Regions from separate parts of the Homo sapiens genome. Here region 1 is linked to region 2. The links are contacts of gene promoters, found by promoter capture Hi-C in human tissues and cell types (Jung and others, 2019). All regions are on one chromosome and are shown on one strand. Each heading gives the region's core, a stretch centred on a gene start or on the middle of the fragment in contact. The rest is flanking DNA. Distances are from core to core; before and after follow the strand shown.

Evidence for each region. Contacts are between HindIII fragments. The study calls those that stand out against the background at their distance.
Region 1: a contact is called between a fragment that was not itself captured here and the fragment with the promoter of MMD2 in region 2, in 2 of the 25 tissues and cell types used here (IMR-90 fibroblasts and lymphoblastoid cells).

Annotation. Positions count from the first base shown.
Region 1 is chr7:5,049,827-5,056,800 of GRCh38, forward strand. All of the region lies in intron 2 of RBAK-RBAKDN (RBAK-RBAKDN readthrough), which reads left to right. The region is part of intron 2 of RBAK (RB associated KRAB zinc finger); the gene reads left to right. Among named protein-coding and RNA genes, the nearest start is that of RBAK-RBAKDN, 7.5 kb to the left of the region's middle. The HindIII fragment of the contact is 3,136 bases long and covers 768-3,903 here.
Region 2 is chr7:4,954,292-4,961,032 of GRCh38, forward strand. It overlaps MMD2 (monocyte to macrophage differentiation associated 2), which reads right to left and starts at 4,896. Exons shown (of 7, transcript NM_198403.4): 1 at 4,680-4,896. The coding sequence starts at 4,726. The HindIII fragment of the contact is 48,661 bases long and covers 1-6,741 here.

The sequences.
Region 1 (6,974 bases), core at 1,086-3,585, 93 kb after region 2:
GATCCTCCTGCCTCAGCCTCCTGCATAGCTACAGGCGCAAGCTGCCACACCCGACTAATTTTTTTATATTTTAGTAGAGACTGGGTTTCACCATGTCACCCAGGCTGGTCTTGAACTCCTGAGCTCAGGCAGTCTGCCCGCCTCGGCCTCCCAAAATGCTAGGATTACAGGCGTGAGCCACTGCTCCCAGCCTAGAGATGTATTCCCACTGTATTGCTCAGACTGGTCTCAAACTCCTGACCTCAAGCAATCCTTTCACTTTGGCCTCCCAAAGTGCTAGGATTACAGGTGTAAGCCACCACACCTGGCTAATAAGGAATCTTTTTGAAAGGGGCTAGGAATAACCCATAATACTCTCTTAATACATGTGGCAATTGGGTTAAATCTTTTAATAGTTCCTATATTATGTCTCTTGCGTGCTCATTGTTTTGAAGAAACTGGGTTGGTTATCCTCAGTTTGGATTGTGTTACCCTTGTTTCACCTTTAGCACATTTAAAAAATATATCTTTTATGCCTTGTTAAATTGGTAGTTTGATCTGGAAGTCTAATCAGGTTTATGTTCAATTCTTTTCACACAGCTGTACCGTACGTGGCATTTGTCTACTTCTGGAGGCATGTGTTACCTTCTTTGTTTTTGTGAACTTAAGAACTATTGACTGTTGATTATTGCTGTGATTTACTAGTTCATTAGGGGAGGCAAAATGGTGATGTGCTAATTCTACCATTTCTTCTTTATTTACTAGCCAAAATACCTTTCTTTTCTTTTCTTTTTTTGGAAACAGAGTCTCACTCTGTCACCCAGGCTGTCGTGTTTACGGCTCACTGCAGCCTCAAACTCCTGTGCTCAAGTGATCCTCCCACTTCAGCCTCCCAAGTAGCTGGGAGTATAGTCATGTGCCACAATGCCCAGCGAATTTTTTAATTTTTAGTAGAGACAGGTTTTGCTATGTTGCCCAGGCTGGTCTTGAACTCCTGGGCTCAAGTGATCCTCTTCTTTGACCTCCCAGTGTTGGCATTACAGGCATGAGTCACCACAGCTGGCCTAGAATACTTTTCTAAAGATAAATTTCTGTTCTCTATTTGGTTATGTAATTCATGCAGGAAAGACAGTTTCTAAAATGTTGAGTAGGCTTCTAAGCAGGAAGGTTTTTTTGTTTTGTTACCATTATGAGCTCGTGGGTTTAAACAGATAGTAAATATTTCAGTACATCAAAGTTGTGATTCTTTTTGAAAATTAAATGGCTCCATCTTTGGCCAGACAAAATCCCTTTAAGTTGGTTTCTGAGTCCTTTTGAAATATATTTGATATATTTGATAGCAAATCTATACATACAATATATATTTGATAGCATTATTTTCTGTTCAGCATTTTATTTTGAAATCATTTCAAATTTTCAGAAAAATTGCACGGATTTTACAAAGAAATCCCAGCTACTTCCTTTTGTTCAGATACTTCATTCTTAACATTTTCCCACATTAATCATTTATATGCATATATACATATATGTGTGTACATATTTTTATATATTTTTTTTCTGAACTGTTTGAGAGTGGGTATGATTTGTCATGCCTCTTTACCTTATAAAGTTTTAGATTATATCTCATAAAATCAAGAACTTTCTATTAAATACCCATAGCACAGTAATTGAATTCAGGAAATTTATCATTGATTTAATACTTTTATCTAAACTGTAGTTCATTTTCCAGTTTTGCCAATTTCCCAATAATTTCCTTTATAGCAATTTTTAATTTTTGGTAGAAGATTCAGTCTAGGACTGTCAATTGCCTTTAGTTTTCATGCTTTTTAAGGCTGTTTAATACGGATTTGTTCCTCAGTGCCATTATAATATTTGCAGAATACAGGCCAATGATATTATAGAAGTCTTTAAATTTAGGTTTCCCTGATCTTTCTTCATGATTAGATTTAGTTGGTGAATTTTTGTCTGGAACACTACATGGGACCTCTTAAATTTATGGCTCAGAATAGGATCTGTCTTGGGAAACTTCTGTGCATGCTTGAGAAGATGGCTTGTTCTGCTCTGGTTGGGTGGAGTGTTTGATAAATGTTAATGAGATCAAGTTGGTTGGTTGTGTTGTTCAGGTGTATTATATCCTTGTTGATTGTGTGCCTACTTGTATCAATTGTTGGGGAGAGGGGATTGAAATCTGCTGCATTTGTGGTTCTCTTTCTCTTTGCAATTTTACCACTTTTTGCTTTATGTATTATATTAGATACATAAATGTTCAAGGTTATTACATCCTGTTGATTAATTAACCACTTTGTAAAATGGCCTTCCTTATCCCTGCTAGTATTCCAGGCTGAAATGTACTTTGTTATTTATGTAGCATTCTTTTGAGTAATGCATGCATGGTATATCTTATTCCATCCTTTTACTTATAACGTATTTGCATCTTTATATCTAAAGTATTATTTCTTGTAGGCAGCAAGATTTGGATCTTGCTTGTTTTCATCAGTCTATTTCTGCCTCATAATTGGGGATGTATAGACTGTTTACATGTAATGTAATTATTGATAAAACTAGTTAGGTTATAGTCCATTGCCTTTGCTTTCTTTTAGTCTCATCTTCTTTGTTTCTTTTTAAAATGTCTTTGTTTGTCTTCCTTCCTCTTGATTAATTGATAATTTTTTATGATTCTACTTTATATCTTTTGTTGAGTTTTTAGCTATCACACTGTTTTGTTATTTTAGTGAGTTAGAATTTATAGTATGCAACTTTAATTATCATAGTTTATTCTTAAGTGATATACCATTTTTCTTAGAGTAAGAGAAGCTTACAATAGGATACTTTCATTTCTCTCCTCTTGGTCTTTACACCGTTGTTCATTTTATTTTTACAGGTGGTATCAGTGCCACACAGAATCTATTACGTTGTTGTTAATTAAACAGTTATCTTTGATTGATTGATTGATTGATTGATTGATTGATTTTGAGTTGGAGTCTCACTCTGTCCCCCAGGCTGGAGTGCAGGGGTGCGATCTTGGCTCACTGCAACCTCTGCCTCCCAGGTTCAAGTGATTCTCCTGCCTCAGCCTCCCGGGTAGCTGGGATTACAGACACCCACCACCACACCCGGCTAATTTTGGTATTTTTAGTAGAGATGAGGTTTCACCATGTTGGCCAGGCTGGTCTCAAACTCCTGACCTCAGGTGACCTGTCTGCCTCAGCCTCCCAAAGTGCTGGGATTACAGGTGTAAGCCACCACACCCAGCCCAGTTATCTTTTAAAAAGATTTAAGTAATGAGAGAAAATACACAGTTACCATTTCTGGTACTCTTCATTCCTTTGTGTAAATCTAAATTTTTATTTGCTGTCATTTTACTTCTGCCTCAAGGACTTTCTTTAACATTTCTTCTAGTTGATGAATTCTTGTACGTCTGCAAATGTCTTCATTGTGTCTTAGCTTTTAAAGGTGTTTCTGCTGGATATTTCTCCACAGTGCTTTAAATATGTTTCTCTATTGTCTTCCTGCTTACATTTTTTTCTAAGAGAAATCTGATCTCATATTCATCTTTGTTCCCCTGTATATAACATGTCTTTTTTTCTTTCCCCCCTTATGTTGTAAACTTTTTATCACTAGTTTTGGGTAATTTGATTGCAATATGTCATGGTATCATTTTTTTCATGTTTCTGTTTTGGGGATCACTGAACTTCTTGGATCTTGGGTTTATGGTGTCATCACTTTGGGAACATTTTTATCATTATTTCTTCACATACCCACCACCTCCCCTCCATTGATTCTTGTTGCCTGTATATTAGGCCACTTGAAATTTTCCCACAACACACTGTTGCTCTTTATTTGCTTTTAATTCTTTTTTCTCTGTTTCATTTTATGTAACTTCTGTTGCTGTCTTTATATTCACTAATCTCTTTTTTCCACGATGCTGTTAATCTTGTCCAGTATAATTTTCATCTCAGATATTGTAGTTTCTATCTGTAGAAGGTTAGCGTGGGTCTTTTTTACATCTTGCCTGTCTCAATTTTTTTGAACATGTGGAATAGAATGATGAACTCTCTCAGTGCTCTGTGTGGGTTGTAAACTCTGTCAATTCTGGGCCAGTTTTGATGGACTGATTCTTTTCTTCCTTATGGTTGTAATTTCCTGCCCATTTTCCCATCTCGCAACTCTTACACCTCACATCTGTCTCTGTTCTTCTTCCCTGCTCTGTGGCCTGGAAACACTCAAGGCAGAAGTTGATTGGTTCACCTTGTTTATTTCCCATCACTCATAGATAACTCTACTGCCTGATAATCAGTGCCTTGAAAACCATTGCTTCAGCCCGGGCGTGGTGGCTCATACCTGTAATCACAGCACTTTGGGAGGCCAAGGAGGGCAGATCACAAGGTCAGGAGTTTGAGACCAGCCTGGCCAACATAGTGAAACCCCTTCTATACTAAAAATACAAAAATTAGCCAGGCATGCTGGTACACGCCTGTAATCCCAGCTACTTGGGAGACTGAGGCAGGAGAATCGCTGGAACCCGGGAGACGGAGGTTGCAGTGAGCCAAGATTGTGCCATTGCACTCCAGCCTAGAAGACAAGAGTGAGACTTTGCCTCAAAAAAAAAAAAAAAAACCATTGCTTCATATATGTTCTCCGTTTTATTTTTCTTTCTGTTTTTGATTTTGTTGTTGCTGCTGTTCTTTGTTATGTGCCATTTCAGGTTGGAGGGTATATCCAGTACCTGTTAGTTTATCACAACTGAGGGCAGAAGTCCTCATGTCTCTCTCTATATATATTTTTTCTAATATATATATTTTTTTCTTTGTAGAGACAGGGTCTTGCTATGTTGCCAAGGCTGGTCTCAAACTCCTGGCCTCAAGCAGTCCTTCTGCCTCAGTTTCCTGAGTGCTGGGATTACAGGCATGAGCCACTGCACCTGGCCTGGATCCAGTTTTGTCCATGTCCAAATGGTGTTTTTCCCTGAGCTGTTTTTGATTTTCTTCCACCTCATATGAACTGTAGTGTCAGCTTATCTAGTTCCAGGAAAAAGCTTTTTGGTATTTTTACTGGGGTTGCATATTTATAAAGTAATTTAGGGTAACTGACTTACCCTAGGTAGGGTAAGTTGACCTTAATAATACAACTAATTTTTTTTGTTTGTTTGTTTTTTAGTAGAGATGGGGGTTTCACCATGTTGACCAGGCTGGTCTTGAACTCCTGACCTCGGGTGATCTGCCCGCCTCGGCCTCCCAAAGTGTTGAGATTACAGGCGTGAGCCACCGTGCCCGAGCACTTTTACTTTTTCTTAGTTATATTCCTCTAATTGTTTTATCTTCTCTAATTGTAGATAATGAGCATTTTATTAATACCTTGTTCTTGATCTTAGTAGGAAGGTATGTAGTTTTTCCCTGTTAAGTAAAATCCTGACTTTTGGACCGAGAAGACTGAGGCATAAATGTGTGTGTGTGTGTGTGTGTGTGTGTGTGTGTGCGTGCGTGTATATACACACAAACTGTATATATATGTGCTTGTGTGTAATTGAAATACATATGTCACATATATATCATACATACTATTGCATATTAGGGTGCAATATTTATATTTGTGTATATACATGTTATTGATGTTAATGAAGTATCCATCAGTTTCTATTTTCTTTAGTTTGTTTTTTTAAATCAGCTTTTTCTGTCAAGCTTTTTCAGGTATCTTCACGGATACAAGATTTTTCTTCTTTGCTGTGTTATAGTGGCTTATCATATTAATAGATTTCCAAATATTAAACTAGTCTATATTATTGGAATAAGTCCCATTTGGCTATTGTATATTATGTTTTTAATCTGGTACTGGATTTTGTTTGATTATGTTTCATTTTGGGTTTTTGTATTGATGTAAGTGGTATTGGCATGTAATTTTATGTTATTTATTGGTTGATCAGTCTTCTAACCCCTACTACCTCCTTGCCTTCTGGACTAACTTAACCCAGAAGGTTATTACTCTCTCTCGGTGATTTTATCAGCTCCTGTGGCCTGACTGTGGATAAGCTTGGATGTTCTGCTTTAGTTTCTCAGCCCACAGCCTAGCGGCCCTGCCTCTGCTATCTCTTGGGATCTACATGGTCCTAGCTGTATCACTGGATTTGAACCCCTTGTTGATATGTTCTTTATAAATAATAGGATAATGCAGCCTGCTTACTGGGCACTTCCTTTTTCTAAACTACAAGTTTGGGCAGGGCGTGCTGGCTCAAGCCTGTAATCCCAACACTTTGGGAGGCCAAGGCAGGTGGATTGCTGGAGCCCAGGAGTTTTGCATTTTTCTTTTTTTTTTTTTTTTTTTTTGAGACAAGGTCTCACTCTGTTGCCTAGGCTGGAGTGCAGTGTTGCATTCACAGCTCACTGCAGCCTTGACCTCCCAGGCTCAAGTGATCCTCCTGCCTTAGCCTCCCAAGTAGCTAGAACTACAGGCGTGTGCCATGATGCCCAGCCAATTTTTTTTTTTTAATTTATTTTTAGCAGAGATGAGGTCTTACTATGTTGCCCAAGCTGGTCTCGAACTCCTGAGCTCAAACGATCTTCCCATCTTGGCCTCCCAAAGTGCTAGGATTATAGGCATGAGCCACCATGCCCAGCCCCAACCACTTAAAAATTGAAGCTGCTTCCCGTTTGCCATTGGTACTTTGTACACCTCATCATATTCTTCTTCCCCTTCATCCCATAGAATGCACAATTCATCTTTAAAGACTTCAAGTTAACTGAGTCTGTGAAGCCTAATCTGATGGCATAAAATTAAAATAATTTGATCCTCTTTTGTTAAATCATTCTGCACCTTGTCTGCATTACTCTAATAACAGCTTTGGGCATTCATTCATTTAACGAATATTTATTGCTCCAAGATTGAGATGTTTGAGATAAAACTCAGCCATGCAGATAGCCAGAGGCCACTGGCTATGAGAATAAAAGAGCCAAAAGAACAAGGAGCTGAAACTAGGTGAGAGCCCCAGAGCAGTGAGTTAG
Region 2 (6,741 bases), core at 3,646-6,145:
CTATTTCTTATTCTCTATATATTTTGGATATTAATTACTTGTTGGTTAAAGGTGTTGCAAATATGTCCTTTGCACTGTGGCTTGTCTTCTACTTTCTTCATGGCATTTTTGATTAACAGAAACTTAATTTTTTTTTCTTTTTTTGAGACGGGGTCTCCCTCTGTCACCCAGGCTGGAGTGCAGGAGCTCAGTCTCAGCTCATTTGCAGCCTCGATCCCCAGGCTCAAGCAAGCCTCCCACCTTAGCCTCCTGAGTAACTGGGACTACAGGCACACTTCACCATGCCCAGCTAATTGTTTGTATTTTTTGTAGAGATGGGGTTTCACCATGTTGCCCAAGCTGGTCTTGAACTCCCGGACTCAGGTGCTCCTCCCACCTCGGCCTCCCAAAATGTTGGGATTACAGGCATAAGCCACCTTGCCCGGCTGCAACTTAATTTTTAATGTAGTCAAGTTCATCAATCTTTTTTTTATGATTTGTACTTTATGTGCCTTCAGAACCTTACCCCAAAGTTCAAAAGTTATTCTTTTATAGATTCTCAAAGTTTTCAACTTTTTAATTTATTTCATGTTTACATCTTTCATCCCTCTAAAAGTGTCTTTTCTGTATGGTGTGAGGTAGGGTTCCTATTCCACTGTTCTCATCTGAATAATGAATTGTCTCAGTACCACTTATCCAATAGATCATCCTTGCCTAGGTTTATCAGCAACACCATCTTTGGTAAAAATAAAATGCCTTTTAAAAAGTTGAGATGGGATCTTGCTATGTTGCCCAGAGTGTTCTCAATCTCCTGGCCTCAAGTGATCCTTCCTGCCTTGGCCTCAGGTGTAGCTGGGATTACGGGCACGTGCTACCACACACAGCTTAAAACACCTTTACATGCATGAATCTATTTCAGGCCTCTTTATTCTGCTCCATTCGTCAATTTGCCCAGCCATGCACCAACACCATACTGTCTTAATTCTTACAGCTTTATGATATGAATGTTTCTTGATGTAGAAAAGCCATTCCAGGTGACCAGGTGGTTACTTACATCAAAGACTCTAGGTTAGAACCTAGGGGGTTAGCTGGCCTACCACCCGCTGAGAAACAGAGACTCCAAGAAGGACAGCATTTTTTACAATGTCACACAGAATTTAATTTGGAATACCCATCTCTCACCACAGAAGATACCAATACGGTAGACACAATCTACATGTGGTTATTGAGCACTTGGAATTGACTAGCCCAAATTCAGACGGGCTGTAAGTATAAAATGCACATTAGATGAAGACTTGTGGGGAAAAAAATGTAAAATATCTCCTAAATAATTTGTTCATATTCATTGTATACTGATATAATAATGCCTTGGATATAAAGAGTTAACTAAAATATATTCTAAAAATTATAATAATTTCACCTGTTTATTTTTACTTTCTTATAACAAGATGGAATATTAGGCACACATTAAACTGAGTGTCTACTAGAAAATTTAAAGCTGGCCGGGCGTGGTGGCTCACTCCTCTAATCCCAGCACTTTGGAAAGCCAAGGTGGGTGGATCATTTGAGGTCAGGAGTTCGAGACCAGCCTGGCCAATATGGTGAAACCCTACCTCTACTAAAAATACAAAAATTAGCCAGGCGTGGTTGCGGGCATCTGTAGTCCCAGCTACTTGGGAGGCTGAGGCAGGAGAATCGCTTAAACCTGGGAGGCGGAGGTTGCAGTGAGCAGAGATTGCGCCATTGCACTCCAGCCTGGGTGACAGAGTGAGACTCCAACTCAAAACTAAATAAATAAAATAAAGCCACATCTGTGGCTTGTATATTACTCATGGACAGCCCTGGATTATACCATTAAATTCATTCAATCAGCTGGGTGCAGTGGCTCATGCCTGTAATCCCAACACTTCAGGAGGCTGAGGCAGGAGGATCACTTGAGCCTAGGTGCTCAAGACCAGCCTGGGCAACATAGTGAGACCCCATCTTTACAGATACTTTTTTTTTAATTAGCCAGGCATGGTGGTGCACACCTGTAGTCCCAGCTACTCAGGAGGCTGAGACAGGAGAATCATGTTTGCCTAGGAGTTTGAGGCTGCAGTGAGCTATGATCACACCACTGCATTCCAGCCTGGGTGATAGAGTAGATCCTATCTTTAAAAAAAAAAAAAATCACTTAATCAAGAAGCCTTTACTACAGACCTAATTTGTGGACTGTACAGTTGTAAAGACTGCACAACGAGGAAGGGAACAGAAATAGAACTAATCCATGCGATCCATTTCCTCCCTGGACCCATCACCCATAGAAGCTGCATTGGCCCAAGCATGAAAGACTGGCCCGTGCTCCAGCTCCAGATCCCTATTCCAATTCCAGAGCAGCCAGCGCAAGTGTCCAAATCTAGAGACCATTTAGACCAGCTCTCATGACTTTACACATCAACCCACTGGGGTCAAGAGAGGTTGAGACATCTACCAAGGTCACACAGCAGGTGTGGGACAGGCCCGGGCTGGTTGCTGAGACTTCAGAGCTCCTTCCCTTCATGTCCACGTCGGCAGCCTTAAACCCAGGGTTTCTCTCTTTCCCGTGAACAGTCCACCAACTTACGTCTCACAAAATCCCCTGGAGCCAGCCTTTACAAGTCCAAGTGCCCACTTTGGGAGGCCGAGGTGAGAGGATCACTTGAGCCCAGGAGTTCAAGACCAGCTTGGGCAACATGGCAAGACCCCGCCTCTATTAAAAATACAAAAGTTAGCCAGGCTTGGTGGCAGGCGCCTGTAGTCCCAGTTACTCGGAAGGCTGAGGCGGGTGAATCACTTGAACCCGGGAGGTGGAGGTTGCAGTGAGCTGAGATCACGCCACCGCACTCCAGAGTCGGCAACAGAGTGAGACTGTCTCAAAAAAAAAAATATATATATATATATATAAATTATCTGGGTATTGTCGTGGTCCATACCTGGAATCCCAGCTACTTGAGGCTGAGGCAGGAGGATCGCTCAAGCCCAGGAATTTGAGGCTGTAGTGAACCATGATTGTGCCACTGCACTCCAGCCTTAGTGTGGGTGACAGAGCAAAACCCTGTCTCAAAGAAAAAAAACAAAGGCCGGGGGCGGTGGGTCATGCCTGTAATCCCAGCACTTTGGGAGGCCGAGGCGGGGGGATCACGACGTCAAGAGATTGAGACCATCCTGGCTAACGCGGTGAAACCCCAGTCTCTACTAAAAATACAAAAAATTAGCCGGGCATGGTGGCAGGTGCCTGTAGTCCCAGCTACTCGGAAGGCTGAAGCAGGAGAATCGCTTGAAACCAGGAGGTGGAGGTTGCAGTGGGCCGAGATCATGCCATTGCACTCCAGCCTGGGCAACAAGAGCGAGACTCCATCTCAGAAAAAAAAAAAAAGTAAGTCCAGTCCAGTCACACAATCTGGTCAACAGAGTCAATCCGCAGGAACTTATCCTCAAGTCCTTCCCAAGTGCATCACATCTCTGGGTGGGATTCCCCATTTAGGAGAGATAGACTCATCATGTCCCCCAGGGGGAAACAGAGGGTGAGACTGAGGGGGAAGGAAGGGTTCCGTCCTGTCCGCCAGCCTTCCCTACCCTGGACACCATCCTAGCCCTGAGCTCCTCTTGTCAAGCTGTGCTCAATATGACCAGAACTTGTGGAGACTTCAGGAGCACCAGGGCACTCTCAACAACCAGTTGCAAGTGACAAGCCACACTGATGTGAGTAGGAAGAATACTGCCAGCCCATCTCCCACTCACCACCCACTGGAGCCTCAGCACACACCAGGCCCCTCTGTTCACGAAGGCAGGGGACCCCAGGTGGCAGAGGGGGAAAGGTGACCTGGAGGACAGCCTGGTGCCCCCTCCAAAGAGGCCCCCGCGGGCTGCTCCCAGCAGACGGGTCTGTGCTCGCCGAAGACCACTGGGGACCGAGGAGCAACTTTAGGAGGGGATTTTTCATGCCAGCTTCCAGGCAAGCACATCTCCCAACAAAATCTTAAAGATATGTAAAAGGAGAAACCCCCTCCCCACGCCCACCTTCTTCACTGGAATTCCAAGCAACAGGAGCCTAACTTCTACTCAGATATCACAATGTCTGTTAATCACCATTTTACAAAAGAGACGGAGGTTCTGAGGGGACCACGGAGTTCACACTATGAAAAGACCAGGATGTACAGGTGCCTCCCCCCACCGCACCCCGAGCCTCAGTTTCTCCATCTGAAAAGAGCACTTACTCTTTCCTCCGACTTGCTGGAAGGGTGGACAGAGGTGGTACCAACGCCTTTTACCATGAACAAGAGTGCCCAAGAGAGACCGAGCGTAACTGCCCGAGCGTAGCTGGCCTGGGCTCCAGGCGCTGCGCAAAGTGCTCTGCAAGGACCAGCTCGCTTAATCCTCACGGCGACCCAGGACACGGGGACTCGCATAACCCCCGTTTTGCAAACGTGGAAATGAGGTTCAGAGAAGTGAAGCGACTTGCCCAATGGCACCCAGCGAGGAGGCGCGGGCGCCCCGGTTACTCCATCCCAGCGAGAAGACGAGGCTGCCTGGGTCCTGGTTTTCTCGGGCGGGGGTCAGGGGTCCGCCGATCCCCTCTAGCGCTCCGGGCGGCGGGGCCCGAGAACCAAGGTGGCCTCCGCGGCCCCCGCCGCCGCGCGCCCCTCCCTCCCTCCCCGCGGACCTCCGCGGCCGCCGCTCACCTCGCGTATTTCGTCTTCTGGAAATCCAGCAGCCGGGGGGCGAACATCGCGGCGCTTCCATGGGAATCTGGCCCCGGGCTCAGAGCGCGGGTAGCTGGCAGAGCCTGGGGGGCGCGGCGGCGGCAGCAGCAGGTTGGAGGGCGCGCGGCGGGGGCCAAGGGGACCTGGTCGGCGCCCGGAGCCGGAGCCGGAGCCCGAGCCGGAGCTGGAGGCGCCCGGAGCCGCCGACGCCAAATCCCGAGCAGATGGTGGCGGGGGCGGGGCGGGCGGGGGCACGGGGGGGCTCCCGGGCTCGCGCTGCCAATCGCCTAAGCCCGGCCCCCTCCCTCCCGCGACCCCGCCGCCTCCGCTGAGGTGGAGGAGGGTCGTGGGGAGATGGGGGGGTGGGAGAGGTGGGGGTGAGGAAGTGGGCGTAAGGAGTGGGGGCGGGACGGGGGGGGTCCTGGCTGCGCGCGCGAGCCACCCATCGCCCAGGCCTGGGGCGGCCCTGGCCCCGGCCCCTTTTCCCGGTGCCCTCCCTGGAAGCCAGGAGGTGGGGGGTTGGTGGGGTGGGGAGCGGGAAGTGGTAGTAGGGGGAGTGGGAAGGATTGGGAAGGCGGGGGCGCCAGGTGGGTGGAATGCAAAGTTGCGGGGCTGAGGGAGTCGGGGAGTGGGAAGGGGACGGGAGTGGGAACAGGGGGTGCTGGAGGGGTTGGGGGAAGTGGGAAGTGGGGGGTAAGGAGAGTGGGAATGGACGTGGGATGAGTGGGAAGTGGGGGCGTTGGTGGGGAGTGGGGGACTTGGGGGTGGGGGAGCGGAAAGTGGGGGGTTGGGGGGAGTGGGGGACCTGGGGGTGGAGGGAGTGGAAAGTGGGGGAAGTTGGGGGGAGTGGGGGACCTGGGGGTGGAGGGAGTGGGAAATGGGGGTGTTGGGGGGTGGAGGGAGTGGAAAGTGGGGGGTTGGGGGGAGTGGGGGACCTGGGGGTGGAGGAAGTGGGGGGTTGGTGGGAAGAAGGGGAACTGGAGGTGGAGGGAGTGGGAAGTCGGGGTGTTGGGGGGGGAGTGAGGGGGTTAGTGGGAAGAGAGGGACTCCGAGGTTGGTGGAGGTGGGAAATGGGGGTCTTGGAGGGAGTGGGGGACCTGGGGGTGGGGGGAGTGGGAAGTGGGGGTGTTGGAGGGAGCGGGGGACCTGGGGGTGGAGGGAGTGGGAAGTGGAGGAGTTGGTGGGGAGTGGGGGACCCGAGGGTAGGGGGACTGGAAAGTGAGGTTGGTGGGGGGTGGAGGGAGTAGGAAGTGGATAGGGGACTTCCCAATCCAGCCCCTTTTTCCCAGGTATCCTCCACCAGTACTTTTTCCAGTGAGGAGAAAAAAGCCCTCCAGGGCTAGACAGGGCTGGACCGACCCCGCTGGCCCCAACTTGGCTGGAAGGACAGCGGACACTGTGCCCGTCGTCCCCAGTGTAGCTGGGCCCAGCACCTACCGCCTGCCTGTGGCTTGCTTGCTCCCCCCACTGCCTGGCTCCCTACTGCCACGTCCCTGCTAGGCACAAGGGCCCCTATGGGACCTGCCCGGGAAGGGTCAGGGCCTCTGGGAAAACCCTCTTCCCCCAAGACTTCATGACTCTGAGGACCCTCCTGACCGCCATGACAGGGTCATTTGCATCTGGTGGCTGGATTCCCGAGTACAAATTCCAGCTTTCTCCCGTAGGAGACCTGGCCCAGGTTCTGGGCTTTGGAAAACCAACCACCCTATGGGAGGCTTGGAACCCCGGGGGGCTGATGGAGGGAAGACAGGCTTCCATGTGAAAGACATGCCAGCGGCACCTGAGGAACCCTAGGATTGGTCCCCAGATCCAAGAGAAGGCCCTTCGTTTGCACACACACTTCACCCTCCTTCCCAAGCCCCAGCCCCTATTCCTTTTTATTAATACAGTAATGCTTTATTTGAGATCCTGCTGAACATTCAGAAGATAACCCCACCCACTCCCTCTGCCCCCAGGGAGCTAGGACCAGAAGTGGGAAAAAGACAAAGGACTTCACCTTTTTTTCTTTTTTTTTTGAGACGGGGTCTTACTCTGTCGCCCA